Regions from separate parts of the Homo sapiens genome. Here region 1 is linked to region 2. The links are contacts of gene promoters, found by promoter capture Hi-C in human tissues and cell types (Jung and others, 2019). All regions are on one chromosome and are shown on one strand. Each heading gives the region's core, a stretch centred on a gene start or on the middle of the fragment in contact. The rest is flanking DNA. Distances are from core to core; before and after follow the strand shown. Region 1 overlaps ANK2 (ankyrin 2). Region 2 holds the start of CAMK2D (calcium/calmodulin dependent protein kinase II delta).

Region 1 (4,123 bases), core at 928-3,427, 450 kb after region 2:
TATTTTAGAATAAATCCATAATTCTAGAATATAAGCACCCCCTCCCACTCCCCCACCGCTCCCCCTCACCCCCCGCCCCGGCAACACACACACGCAGGTTTAGCAGTGAGCAGGGAAATGTGGATAAATCTAGGAAGGGCTTGTTTCCATGCTCTGTTAATACCTACCTGGGCATGGTGCTAGTGAAAGCAATTCAGATAAAGAAATAATGCAAAGGAAAAAATGGTCACTGAGAAAAGGTAACTTATATTGAATTGCCTAAGCAAAATTAAAAATAAAAGAAGACCATGAAAATGAGATGCTGTCTGTCACTCTATTTTGGAAATGGTGAATACATCTAGTGATCTAGAAATGCAAGTGGAGACCTGGAGAACACAGTATGTCTTGTTTGTTTCATGTCCCCTGACCTTATGTGCTGAAAAGTATTGGATTTAAGCAGGAGCATTCAAGCCATCCATCCTGTTTTATAGAAAGTATTATTCTAAATTCTTCCTCAACCTAAGTACTTTGAAAGAAGAAAAACAGATCAAATCAAGTACTTATTCTTAATAAGGGAGACCATGCAAAAAATAGAAGCTTTATGGTTGACAGTAATAAGACTGTTCATAGATTATCATCAATTTGTGCAATGCCATGAACATTACACTTTATTCAAATTTGAAATCTTTTAAGAATCTCAGAGTATAAGGTCCAAATCTACCAATGTATCAAGACAGCTTATGGAACTCCAGAGGGGCTCCTCCTTCTGGGAGCACCCTTTATCTAAGTTATTGAAGCCAAGGACTCAATTTAATCTCCTTCCCCTTCCTCACCTAAATCATGAAATTCATCATGAAATCTGACTAGTTTTGCCTCCTACACATGTCTCAAAAAACTCTCAAATTTTTTATTTCTGAAATTCTCTCCATGACTATCACCAAGGTTAGAGTGCTAGTCCTCTCATGACACCTGCAGTTAATACACGAACAATTGCTTCTCAGAGTGGCTGCAATCTCCAGGTTTAGCCCTTTGAAACTCTCCTTTAAAATTCATCCTCTTTCTCACTGGCAGAAGGATCCCCCTGCTATGCAAATATAATTCCCGTCCTCCACACTTACACTCCAGCAACACTGCATTCCCTTTTTTCTCATACACCCTGCGAGCCTTTGCTCAAGACCTTGTTAAGGCTTCAAATGCCCTCCCCACTTTTCCTCACCATTGTTACTCATTATTTGGTCTCAGTTTGGTTTCATCTGCTCCAGGAAGCTAGAGCCTCAGGGCTTCAGTGGCACTCTATGTGTACCACTAGCTTATGCCCTCTCCCATCCCATTAGACTATGAAGTTAACAAGCCTATCTTGCTAAAGAAAAAAAAAAAGATAGTGGAAGGGGGCATTGGTGCTCAAGGAAAAAGCCCAAGAAAAGTTTGTTTTTGCTAATTATTCACTTAGACTTTAAGGTATTTATTTCTTAGACTCTATGCTGGATATTCATAAAATAGCTTACAATAGTGCCAACTTTAAAACTATAAACCTGAGATTATTGATTAGCAGAACACATTACACTACGTGGACAAACTTTCTTTTCTTTTCTTTTTTTTTTTTTCTGTCTCAAGAGACAGTGTCTTGCTATGTTGCCCAGCCTGGACTTGAATTCTGGGGCTCAAGGGATCCTCCAACTCAGCCTCCCAAGTAGCTGAGACTACAGGTCTCAGCACCCAGCCACTGCACCCAGCTATGACATCCATATTCATGGCCCAACTTATCAGTCATAATTTCAATGAGGAACCACAGAATGTCATTACCTAACTTGCATAAAAAAATAACAAGTGCCAGTTGTACTAGTTAATAATAACAAAAAGTAGCACTGATCATATATCTCAGAATATTATATAAACCTCCCAGATTTGCCTATTAACACTGGGCTCCCTCAGATTTTGCTCCGATTGTTTCTTGTATCCAGGCTCTCGTGGGATTCTGTTCGGATTCTTTTTCATGAAAAAGTCAGTTCCAGGCAGTTTTGTTCTGAATGTATTTCTTTTTAATTCAGCCTCACAACATACTTTATTCACAGAAATTATGTTACTAACAAAAAAGTGGGGGCAGAAGAGTATCCAAAGTGTCTGTGATGCCGCTCAGTAAGAATGTCTATAAGGCAAAATTGTCCTTTTAATTTGAGGAAAAAGTGGCCAGTGATGAAAAACGCCACATTTAAATGATGAGAACTCTTATTTATGATGGTTTTGCTTCTTACTAGTTGTTTGATTTTACCAAGTTATTTGATCTTTCTAGGCCTCAGTTTTCTGTTCTTTAAAATGGGCATATCTTAAAGTTGTTAGACAATGGAAAAACATAACATGCTAACTGCTGAGATTAATAAGGTACCTATTAAATGCTCAATAATTGCATCTACATTTTTATCATCATCATAAAAAATATGTTGCACATACTTCTGGCTGACATCAATTATAAGTTTTATGAGATACCTGTCAGATCGTCCTCCCTCCAAGCTGTATCGCAGGTAATTCATACCATCCAGGAACTGACTGCTGGGTAGTGAGTCATCACCCAGTTCTTTTAGGTCCTCAGGCCTAAGGTATTCTCCCCCATCACCAGTCATTGTGTCATCACCTTGAAACAATCAGAGGAAGAAGCAGGATTATTTCTTGAATGTAATATCAACTACAACATATGGTCATGATTGTGAAATGCATCAACATCATTACCTTGACCTTGATGAAACTGCACTGCACACTAGAACACAGAACACCAGCAAACAACTATACAGTGCTAAAACTTAGAGAAACAACATTTGATTCATTTTCTTAGTACTTACCAAGAAGAAGTAATCACTTGAATTTTAATTCTTTTAATATTAAGTTTGGATATCCCTTGTTGTTTACTTCTAGGAGAAAAAACTTCTAAGATGAATTCTAATTATAGATTTATCAAAACACAGGCATAGTCTGCTTTAGGATTAAGCCTACATTACTTTCAGAAAAAAATATGAGTTTTATTAACATTTCAGGAGACTACATCTATTCTTATTCATGAAAAGGTGAAGGGGATGGTTTAATACAGAATCTGTCACATAATACAAGCACAGTGCAAGCTGCATATTATGGATCCCTTGCAAAAAGCCAAAAAGATTATTTAAAAACTAAAAGTTGGCTGGCTGCAGTGGCTCATGCCTGTAATCCCAACCCTTTGGGAGGCTGAGGCAGGTGGATCACCTGAGGTCAGGAGTTCAAGACCAGCCTGACCAATATAGTGAAACCCTGTCTCTACTAAAAATACAAAAATTAGCTGGGCGTGGTGGCACATGCCTGTAGTCCCAGCTACTTGGGAGGCTGAGGCAGGAGAATTGCTTGAACCCAGGAGATGAAGGTTGCAGTGAGCCGAGATTGCACCACTGCACTCCAGCCTGGGTGACAGAGTGAGACTCATCTAAAAAAAAAAAAGTCTGCTTATATACTCTTTCTTTCCCCCAGTCTTCTACCCCACCCCTACTCCCCAAAATTCTAGCACCAAATTCTGAATACTACTTAGGTTCGAGCATCCTGTCCCTCCTCAGAGTCTGTTTGCTTTTGCATTTCATCTTGCTTCTCCTAATTTGCCAGTTCTCACCGCTGTCTCTCAGCAGCCAAGATGGTCACAGGGAATAAATACAACTCAAAATAAGCTTTAACTTCTTGGTCCTTAAAAATCCACAAAACTCCTTAATAAAATGGGTCCTACATTTCAAATTTTCTTATTTCTCCCATTTATCTTTCCCTCTTGTTACACCTTGGTAGGGTGAGGAAGGTTTATAAGGGTGAAGAAAGAAAAGGTGAGAAAGGTAAAGATAAAAGAAGAGTCTGGCTGGAATGACTCTACATCTGAAGGAGCAAGACACAGCATTTGATCAGGTAGAACATGCAAATCAACCACAGGAACCCAGCCTTCCTCTCTCGTGTGAATAGAATCTTATTAGAAAATAGAAAGACATTTGAAGAATATATTTTTAATCAAATATATCAAAATTTTATGACTCTGGTGACAAGACAAAAATTTAAAACTTCTGATTGGCCAGGTACAGTGGTTCACACCTGTAATCCCAGCACTTTGGGAGGCCGAGGCAGGAGGATTGCTTGAGCTCAGAAGTTT
Region 2 (4,173 bases), core at 1,003-3,502:
AATAACTGTAAATATTTGTTCAAATAAGAGAAATATTTAGTCTAAAATATAAATCAAAGAAAGGGTACGTACAGATTAAGCAGTGTTTGCTGTAAAAAATGTACACATTTATTGTCTAATAATACATCAGTATTAAAACTCAGTTATGTTTCCTTTATTGTACTCCACAATTATAACCATTTACAATTATTGGTAGTTTAAATAACTGAGATAAATACTGTAATTATGTAGACTTCATTACTTGAATATTTAAGAAACAATTTTCTTCCCAGATGTAAATTTTTATATTACCTTTATTGTTTTAATTTTACTTTTTCTGTTTCATTCTTAGATTCAGGGAAAAATATTAAATTATTTCATTATCACCTTGGAGCCACATTGCTAAATAGTTCAGATATTACAAATCTTTAGCCAAGACCAAATTGTGTTTTTTTTTTCAATTTATAGCCCAATTATTAATATTTAGAGACCATGTTTCTTTTATGCAGTTCTTGGTATCATCTTTTTCTATAGCACTACATTTTACACAGTTATTTCTTGCCTTTTACGGCTGGGAATCAAAACACATACGAACTTCAATTTTGTTGTAATAAACGTTAAAATTTGTGAACATTTTTAGTACTTCAGTAAAAAGCTCACTCATTGGCAGAAGCGTTCCCCAGATCAGGAAAAAAGGAATTAGGATTATCTATGACCACAAAGTAACATTAATTAATAGCAGTCTTTGGGAGCAAGCAGCAGCGCCTTTAAATCTTAGATTCTCTTGTGTCTGCAAATTATCTTTTATCTTTCAGCTGTGAAATTTTGTCTATGAAGTAATACCACGAGCAAATTAGCAATAGGATTGCAAGGTTTTTATAGTCCCGTGCTGTAGAACAATTGGCAGTAATTTGAAAAAGACCGTCCATAACGCTGTTTTTGGTCTGCGGCTAAATTTGCAATTGCATAGTTTCATTAAGGAGAACTGGAAAGAGGGCCCAGAAGTTGTTCTAGCAATCGGCAGCAGTTTATCTATTTTAAATCGTAATGCATACTTTTTTTTTCCTCCTACTGAAAACAATGGCAGATATGCTAAAGGGAAGGACACATTCTTGAACTGCTAAATGGTTTTTCCAGATAGCCATTTACGGAGTGCACTCAATTGCCACTATCTGGCTGAAAGCAAAAGCACACACGACGGCCCCTTTTCTTTTTTCCCTTTGCAAAGCGAAACAGTCTAGACGTGTTCACGTGATGTGAATGACGTCAGCCCCCGCCGGGTCGCGTGACCGACACCCAGCCTTCCTACTACCTCCCCCTGACCGCCAGAGTGGGAAATATCGCGAGAATTCGCCTTACTATCAGAACTTACTGAGGTTGCAGGGGAGTTACTCAGAAGGGAAGGGAAGGTGTGGTTGTGCGGCGGAGTTTTTGCTTTCATTCTTTTAACGTTCACAGCCAAAGCAAAGGCCTTTGGGGATTGCCAGAGTCTCAGCCACCATCCTGGAAAACAGCGGGGGAGGTGGGCCTGGAGGTGGCAAGTGTAATGTGGCTCAGGGGCCGTCATTGCCCCTTGCAGAAGGGGCTGCGGGGGAGGGAGAAAACCTGCGCCCGGTTCTGGGGAGCTGGCGACGCAGTGAACCCTGCTGAGGCTGGGTTTTGCCCCGACAGTCGCTGGTGGCTGTGGGAAGGGTTGGGACCCTTCTCTGAGAGCAGTGAACAGCCCACATCCGGCCCCTGCTGTGTCAACTCTGAGCGGCGTGGAGATGAAGTGGTTGCTCTCCCTTGCTCGGCCCACCGGGTGTCGTGGCCCGGGAACCGGCCTGGAGAAGTCCCTGCTGCCCGGCGCCCAAAACAGGGGCGTGGGCTTCCGCGACCCAGGGCGGCTGCCCCGGGCCATCCTCGAGTTGCCCTGCATCTTCCCGCTCAGTCAGCCCCAGATTGAGGCAGCCTTCTCTGTGCGGGTTTAAATGGGTAACTGTGACTTCTCGCCTCATTCACCCAAACCTCCAGTCTTCTCCCCCGCACATCCTCCTCCACCCACCTGGTTTCTCCCTAGACTGGTGTGCTCGTGTGTGCAACCAAAGGAGGGAGTGCGAGAGATCCACGAAGGGACAGGCTTGGAGTCGCTAGAGGGAGGTGTGGGACCAGCGAGGAGGGGGCTTCGCCAGGGAGGGGGTGCTGGCAGGCGGAGGGAGCGGCGGGAGGAGGCGCCGGAGGAGGAGACGGAGGCCTGGGGACGGCAGAAGAGGCTTCGCCTGAGCCGAGCGCTCTTTCTCTCGCCGCGCCGTCTTGAAGCCGCGCGGGCTCGTGAGCAGCGCGAGGCCGCCAAGGTGCCTCGCTTCGCCGGAGCCGCTGCCGCCCGCCGGAGGGAAGCCGGCCTCGGGCGCGCACGCTCGTCGGAGCCCCGGCGCGCCCCGCGCCTGAGCCTGCTGACAGCGGCCGCTGGGCTCAGGCTGTCCGCTCTGGGCTCCGCGGCCTCGGCCCCGCTGCACTCCACCTCCGCCCCCTCGGACTCCCTCCCCTCTGCTTCTACTCCTCCTGCTCCAGTGCGGATCGTTTCGCAACTGCTTGCCACTCGTCCCGTGCCTGGCTGTTTTTCCATTTCCCGGCCCCCTCTTCTTGAGTACTTTACCCCCTGCATTTGGGGACAGGGACTGGAAAAGGGGCGGGTGGAGCGTCCAGTGGAGAAGAAGGAAGCGAGGCCCGCAGGAGGAGGAGGATCGGCGGACTGTGGGGAGGAGACCCCACGCCACCCTTTCTGGTCATCTCCCCTCCCGCCCCGCCCCTGCGCACACTCCCTCGCGGGCGAGCTACTTTCGGACCAGGAAAGTAAGAGCGGCCCTGGGTGACAGCGCCGCGGGGCCAGTCCCGGGGTTAGCCGCGCGTCTGCTCGCTTCTGGTCCGTCGCGCTCCCAGCCAGGGCACAGCCCGGACCGAGGATGGCTTCGACCACAACCTGCACCAGGTTCACGGACGAGTATCAGCTTTTCGAGGAGCTTGGAAAGTAAGCACCTTTGCCCGGCATCCGCATATCCCCTTTCCAGCTGAGGGCGGGTCGCGTTGCCCCCGACCCACCGGCCTCCGTCTTGGGGCGAGGGAGTTTGGGAGAGGAATGGGAGGAGGGCCCCTGGTTTGTCAGCTCTGGGGAAGGTGCTGTCTTAATAAAGGGAGGGAGCACAGAAGGGGTAGGACCCTTACTCCAACTGTGGCTCATTTTGATGGTCCCTAGCCCACCTTCTCCCGGTCCCCCACCCTCCTGCACTGAGAGACTTAGTGAATTTACGATCTCTGCAGTTGTAGCTATCATCCTGAGAAGTGTGCGCGCGCGCCTGTGTGTAATGTGTGTTTGGAGAGGAAATTAGAACCCATGTAAAATGCAACATAGATCATGTTTTCTGTAAATAGAGATGCCTCCTGGTTAGCCGGCGTGTCGGCCGTATGACCCAGGTACTGATGAGAACTCACAGCCTCAGACGGTGCCATATTTATTGATGCCGAAAGTTCAACTTGGCATAGAGTCTATTTCGCATCCAGTAGTTGTTCTGTCCAGGAAAAGGGCCACCCAACAGAACCCAACCCCTTGCCCTATATCCAGTGTTGTTCTTTGCACCAGATTACCGCTCACCATCATTCTTCCTAGGATTTACGTGTGCATCTTTGCGTTCTCTGGGAGGATTTATTTATACAGGCAACGGAAAAGCCCTCTGGAGACTGAGAGCGCTCTTAAGCGTAGCCTAGCATTGTGTAAAACCACCTCCTTCACCCGACTGGCAGAACTACTTGGAGATGTTAGGGAAGGAGGCAGGAGACCTACTGAGGACTTATGCAAAGGGACCTAGGGGCCAAGCCGTGAATGCTGATTTTTGTAGCATGGAACCCAAACCCAATTCCTCTTTCACTAGTTTCGACTGTTACTTTTATGAAAGGAGTGCGTTTATATGTATGTTGTTGGTTTATACTGTAATTAAAGGAAAGGTAAATATTTTTAAAAGTAATAAAAATTACATATGTATATATTGTCTGGTGTTAAAACATGGAGAATATGTCGGAAGAGCAGCTTAATTCAAATCTCTCCCCTCCCCCAGTCCAAAACAAGGCATAGAGAAATCACCATACCAGGATTTGTTAAACCACACTAATGTGCTCAAGATTTATATTTTAATGAAAATAATCGTCATGTTTACTTACTTG

The links. Contacts are between HindIII fragments. The study calls those that stand out against the background at their distance.
Region 1: a fragment that was not itself captured here is called in contact with the fragment with the promoter of CAMK2D in region 2 in 1 of the 25 tissues and cell types used here (dorsolateral prefrontal cortex).

What each region holds. Positions count from the first base shown.
Region 1 is chr4:113,309,740-113,313,862 of GRCh38, reverse strand. It overlaps ANK2 (ankyrin 2), which reads right to left. Exons shown (of 46, transcript NM_001148.6): 24 at 2,464-2,608. Among named protein-coding and RNA genes, the nearest start is that of MIR8082, 160 kb to the right of the region's middle. The HindIII fragment of the contact is 4,166 bases long and covers 95-4,123 here.
Region 2 is chr4:113,759,817-113,763,989 of GRCh38, reverse strand. CAMK2D (calcium/calmodulin dependent protein kinase II delta) reads left to right here and starts at 2,252. Exons shown (of 21, transcript NM_001321571.2): 1 at 2,252-2,986. The coding sequence starts at 2,922. RefSeq lists enhancers at 985-1,523, 1,524-2,062 and a silencer at 2,056-2,465. The HindIII fragment of the contact is 17,098 bases long and covers 1-4,173 here.